2 separate regions of the Homo sapiens genome follow, and region 1 is linked to region 2. Evidence: promoter capture Hi-C in 16 types of primary human blood cells and fetal thymus (Javierre and others, 2016). All regions are on one chromosome and are shown on one strand. Each heading gives the region's core, a stretch centred on a gene start or on the middle of the fragment in contact. The rest is flanking DNA. Distances are from core to core; before and after follow the strand shown. Region 1 holds the start of CPA5 (carboxypeptidase A5). Region 2 has its middle 14 kb from the start of TSGA13.

What was found. Contacts are between HindIII fragments. The CHiCAGO score rates a contact against its expected background, and 5 or more counts as called.
Region 1: a contact is called between the fragment with the promoter of CPA5 here and a fragment that was not itself captured in region 2, in 1 of 17 cell types (total CD4 T cells). The highest score is 5.3, in total CD4 T cells.

What each region holds. Positions count from the first base shown.
Region 1 is chr7:130,343,083-130,346,160 of GRCh38, forward strand. It overlaps CPA5 (carboxypeptidase A5), which reads left to right and starts at 1,734. Exons shown (of 13, transcript NM_080385.5): 1 at 1,734-2,123; 2 at 2,757-2,814. The region is part of intron 1 of LOC105375503 (a long non-coding RNA gene); the gene reads right to left. It overlaps LOC124901837 (small nucleolar RNA U13), which reads left to right and starts at 1,333; the gene lies at 1,333-1,436. RefSeq lists an enhancer at 2,926-3,078. The HindIII fragment of the contact is 13,267 bases long and covers 1-3,078 here.
Region 2 is chr7:130,698,564-130,701,598 of GRCh38, forward strand. No RefSeq gene overlaps it. Among named protein-coding and RNA genes, the nearest start is that of TSGA13, 14 kb to the left of the region's middle. The HindIII fragment of the contact is 1,578 bases long and covers 982-2,559 here.

The DNA.
Region 1 (3,078 bases), core at 484-2,983, 360 kb before region 2:
TTTCTTTCTTTCTTCTTCTTTCTTTCTTTCTTCCTTCCTTCCTTCTTCTTTCTTCTTTTCTTTCTTTTTCTTTCCTTCTTTCTTCTCTTTCTTTCTTTCTTTCTTTCTCTTTTTTCTTTCTTCTTTCTTTATTCTTTTTTTTCCTTTCTTTCTCTTTCCCTCTCTCCTTTCTTTTTTTTTCTGTCTGTCCTTCCTTCCTTCCTTCCTTCCTCGCTCCCTCCCTCTCTCCCTCCCTCCCTCTCTTCCTCCCTCCCTCCCTTCCTTATTTCTTTTCTTTTTCTTTTTTTCTTTTTTTTTTTTTTGAGATAGGTTTTTGTTCTGTCACCCAGGCTGGAGTATGGTTCTCTGCAGCCTCAAAGTCCTGGGCTCAGTTGATCTGCTTGCTTGCTTCCCGAGTAGCTAGGACTACAGATGCGTGCCTCACCATGCCCAGCTAATTTTATTTTATTTTTGCAGAGATAGGGTCTCCCTGACTTGCCCAGGCTGGTCTCGGACTCCTGGGCTCAAGCGAACTCCTGGGCTCCTCCTGCCTTGGCCTCCCAAAGCACTGGGATTACAGATGTGAGCTGCCATACCTGGCCAAAAATTTTCAAATAAGTAAAAACAGAAACCTTAACTAAAGGAAGGTTTGAAAAGATAGATTTGAAGCAGAGGGAAGATGATTCTAGATACATGGTACATGCATCCAGTAGGAAAATCAAGAACACCAGCATTCTGAGAAGTTCTCTGAGGCAAAACTTGCTTACCACTTGGGTGTCTGTCTGGCTTTTCCTTCTTTTTGGGATCTATAGATTCTTATTTTTGTGCCAACCCAGCAATGGCTTTAGAAAGTTGTTACTAAAAATATTTTCTTCTGCATTTGAGTTCTTTCATTTGGGCAAGATTGCTTAGGTATCTAACCCACCCCACCTGCAGGAAATAAAAGTCCTCCAAAAAAATTTCTAATTTAGGGAAACTCTCCTTCAGTCTATGTGGAGCCCATGTTCCCCGTCCTCATGGTACAATGTGCCTTTCCCTTGTAACACAAACACCATCTATAGTTTTACACTTATCTGGAGTGAGATGGGCTACCATTATGTCTTGGGTTTACCAATTATCTTCATGCTATTTAAATTAATTTTCTACTTACGCCTTTAGAAATGTAAGGGCCAGATATGTGTTGCTTTCTATTTTGTTTCCAGACTTTAGCAAGTGCCTGGAACATAGCAGGTATTCAGAGGACATTTACTGAGTAAATGATTAGGTGAGTAATTAATTATAAGTGAAAAGCCAAAATGAGGTATTAGGTCAAGCATAGCTATGTGTCTCCGCTTCAAATCCAGCCATAAGCTGATAATTGCAGTTCATAAGTATGATAATTGGGTGCTCACGCATGCGTGTGTGAGATGTGTCACCCTCAAACCTTGTTATGACGTCAGCACATTACCCGTCTAACATGAACTTAGAAGAAGCAAAACCAAAAACAAATCCAGCCATTGGAGATGGTGCTTTCAGGGTTGGTGAATTCCCAGAGAACTCTGCTGTCCAATATGGTAGCCATTAGCCACATGTGGCTATTTAAATTTTATTTAAATTAATTAAAGTTAAATACAACTCCAAAATCAATATTCAACCACAATAGCCACATTTCAAGAGGTTAGTGGCTATCCTACTGGGGGGTGTGGACATAGAATATTTCCATTATCACAGAAAGTTCTATTGGAAGCTATGTCATAGAATTCTCAAAACTTCCTAACTGCTTCTCTCTCTCTCTTTTACTCTTATTCTTTCTCTCTCACTCTCTCTCTTTTCCCACCCTTAAGCCAAGTACAGGGATAGTTGTCTCATCATTGGTGGCTTAAAATGATGTTTTTGAACAAGAAGACGCCCCATGGGTACTTTTGGTGACTAGCACTATCTCTGTTTTTTTCCTTTTAAATTCCTGAGCTATTGTTTAGCAGTACACCCTTTTATCTCCATTGCTACTGAAGCTGAATGTTACTTGGGTGGAAAGCATAACTGCTTTCTTTTCTATGTCCTTAAACCCTTTGATAATGTTACTGTTTGAGAGTCCCTGAAGCCAGGATACTAGAAGAGTCTGGCTTGTCTGAACAGCTGAACTACGAAATAATGGAGTAGGGCAGGTGGGTGGGGGAGCAGGGCGTTCTGTCGATAAACGAGCTCCCTTCTTTGCACACATAGCCAGTTAATCGGCCATTCTGAGATAGTTTGGATGGGGAGGGGGAGCTTCTGAGAATCGCCAGTGACAGTTAAGTGGCCTATTGTTGACGTCCTCTGCTGAACGACTTGGTTGGATTCAGCTTCTGCCTTACCCCCACCCCCTGTGGATTTTCTGTTAGATTCATCATTTGCCATTCAGGCATCATCTTTCACTTTCTCCTTCCAACATGACTGCTTTGTGTGCTGGCCCCTGCTTTACTCCTGCTATTCCCAAACTATAAAGGGAACTGTGTGGGGCTTCAGCAGGACTGAGAAATTGACTCTGCTGTCTGTTGAGAACTCTAATAATGACTGCGGTGACCTTCATGTCTAGCAGAAAACCCACTGTCTGTGCTAGCACAATGATGACCACCTGAAGACAGAGAAAAGGGAATCTTGATTGAATTCCTTCTCATACAATATATAGTTATTTCCTTTGTTCTCCTCTCCATTCTCTTCTCTTCCCCTTCTCCCCATCGCCACTGGAGGACTGATCTCAAATGCAGCTGTGACTAAAAGTTAATGCCTTTTGAATAATAATACATTGCATTTTGCAGGCTTTACCAAGCCAATTCACTCAAGTTGTCTCATCTATACCCCTTCAAACCCTGTGAGGTAGGGAGGGGAGGTATGATTAACCCCATTTGATGGATGAGTAAACTGAGATTTAGAGATTAGGGCAGCTGCCCCAGATATTTTAGACGGGAAGTGAGCACCCAGTCTCTGTCTCTAAGTCCAGCGGTGTTTCAATGGCATCCACACCTTATGTGTAAGGAGGATATGGCCCAGGGAAAGCATGAGTGGGCTAGGCGGAGAAGAAGAGCGAAAGAGAAGATGCTGTAGAGGAGGGAGGAAAGGAGGGGTATCCCAGGGCTGCTG
Region 2 (3,035 bases), core at 521-3,020:
AAAAATATAGTAACACATAATGGCTGAAAAAGGTAGTCCTAGGAGTTTTTTCTCATTCTTTATGTCCTCTTTAAAAAAATTCCTTCACCCCTATCTACTTTGCCTCCTGTGCTACCATATCTCTATGTTACAGGTGACGTCCAAGAGCCTCCTACCAAACAAGAGGGCCAATTATAGCAGGTTGGAGATGTCCAAGTAAATCTAGGAGGTATTGGGTTACTTTGGCTGGGATTAAAAAATACCAGAAACCATTCGCTTTCATCTGGCAGGGACAACAATACATCTTTACCATTTTGCGGCAAGTGTGTCAGATATTTGCCCATTATTTTTCTGTACTCTGCACTAGGACACTGTGACTAGACACTGCAAACTTCACATTCCAGAGCCCCTTGCTAGCTAGCTTCTGCCAATTGGAGGCACTTCCAAAAACCATAAAGTGGAGGAGGTAAGAAGTAGTGTCTTCCAGTTTCCAGTTCTAGTTTGCTTACTCTCCAGCTACAGCAGACAGCTATGATTTGATTCCAGCCTTCAGCTTGTTATTCCCAGCAATATTCTCACTATGCCCCATCAAGATACTAGTAGCAGCCAAGCCCATCATTCACTTTTATCCATTTGGCCATAGCCCCTTGAGTGGTGCAGCCTACACTTCCTCAGCAGTCTAAGCACTAGAAGTAAAGTATCCTCTTCTGTATGTTCTGGTAATATCACTTCTTCCATTTTGTTCCCCCAGGTCTAAGGTGGTACCTTCTAAAGAGATTAATCTGTGGGTTGCCTCAACCTCTCATTTTTGCTTGTTTGGTGTTCCAATACCTGCGTAATCAATTCCCTTTATTAACTACCCTTTGTTTGAAATATCTAGTGTGGTTTACGTTCTTATGATTAGACTCTGACTGATAGAAGAACCTTGATCCTCTCACCATTCCAAAGAAAATTATGCTGGTCCACTACAGAGAGGGCTAAGAAAGCAGGGAATATCCTAAAAGCTTTGGTAAAACTCATGAATGTCAGGAAGAAGAAAATCTGAGGGCTTTTACATTAATGCATCTTCTAGAGGGTCCAGTTTAGGAGTATACAGGTTATCTCCTCCTCAGTGGACTGGCCTGCCTTACAGTAAGAAAAATGTAAAATTTTTGGTGGCAACCAATGGCACATTTGGGTGTGTTACACTGACAAATCCAATAGGTGACTTTGAAAAACTGACAAATTTTAGTGGGACTTAAAGCAAGAAAAGTTCCTTCAGCTGGTTCAGGCTGCAAGCAAGCAGCTCTGTCACTTGGCTCTTATGATTCAGTAGATCCAATGATGCGAAAAGGTCGGGATGACGAAACCAGCCCATGTGACTCCTCAGTAGGTAGGATCACATTAGTGACCTGCAGCGTTCTGTGGAAAAAGCCACACCCTGTGGGCAACTAAATATTCTCCTTATGAACCTCATGTTATATTTTGGGGGAATATATGTCTAAAAAATAAAAATGCTGGGTCATAAGATATATTTGTTTAATATAATTTGTCTGAGAAATGTCAAATTGCTGCCTGTAATCTCAGCACTTTGGGAGGCCAAGGCTGGCAGATCACCTGAGGTCAGGAGTTGGAGACCAACCTGACCAACATGGAGTTGGAGACCAACCTGACCAACATGGCAAAACCCCATCTCTACTAAAAATACAAAAATTAGCCGGGTGTGGTGGCTCGCACCTGTAGTCCCAGCTACTCGTAAGGCTGAGGCAGGAGAATTGCTTGAACCCGGGAGGCGGAGGTTGCAGTGAACCAACAGAGTGCCACTGTACTCCAGCCTGGGCGACAGAGTGAGACTTTGTCTCAAAAAGAAAGAAAGAAAGAAATGCCAAATTGCACTCCACAATGGCTGCCTCTTTTAAATATCTGCTTTGAAGGATTGCCCTTGGGCTACTGGAGCCACTTATCCCAGAGAATAGGAAGTGTCTGGGAGATTAGGTACCCCCAGTACATCTGTAGTCAATGGACCACTGCAGTATAAGGATGAAAGCCCAGCTCCTTTGCCTTAGACTCTTTCAGGCTGAGGCATAATTTCCTCTCCAGAACTCCCTTATAGGATCAGATTAAGGCTAGGACTCTGTCTGAAATACAGTACATCTTTCTTTAGTTTCTTCTATTTTTCTGTCCTTCATCCCCAACTTCCTTACCAGTTTATGCTGGGATGACTTTCTTAATAAGTTATTTGAAAATAAATCTATGTCTCAAGATTGGCTTTTGGCGAACATGAGCTAAGTCACATTGCCCCATCCACACTTAGTATCATTCAACTTTCTAATTCTTCCCTATTTCACTGTTGTTTCAATTTGCATTTCTTTGATTATTAATGAGTTTAAACATTTCTTCATATTTATCAACTTTTGGTTCCTTATTTAAATGCTGATTCATATCTTTTGCCTATTATTTTAATGAAGTTGCTGACATTTTCTTGTGAATTTGCAAGATTTTGTTATATATTCTAGATATCAACCCATAGTCAGCTTTAAATGGTATGAATAATTTTCTTTAATTCTATTAGCTGTCCATTAATTTTTTCCCTGGATAGAAAGCTTTTGTGTGTGTGTGTGTGCCTCCACCAAGATTTTTTAAATTAACTATTTTAAATTCAGTGACATTTAGTTCATTTGCAGCATTGTGCAACCACCGCATCTATCTAGTTTTGAAACATTTTCTTCACTCTAAAGTAAAACCTTTTGCACATTAAACAGTTTCTCCTCTTTCTCTCTAACCTGCCAGTACCTGGCAGCCACCAATCTGTGTTCTATCTTTATGAATTTATCTATTCTGGATATTTCATACAAATGGAATCATACAATATGTGATCTTTGGTGTCTGGCTTCTTTCACTTAGCTAATGTTTTAGAGGTTCATCCATGTTATAGCATGTATTAGGTACGGTACTTCATCCTTTTTTTTAATCACTGAAAAATATGCTTATGAATATACTGCAATTTGTTTATCCACTCTTCCACTGATAGACATTTGGGCTGTTTCCACCTTTTGACTATTATCAATAGTGCTGTT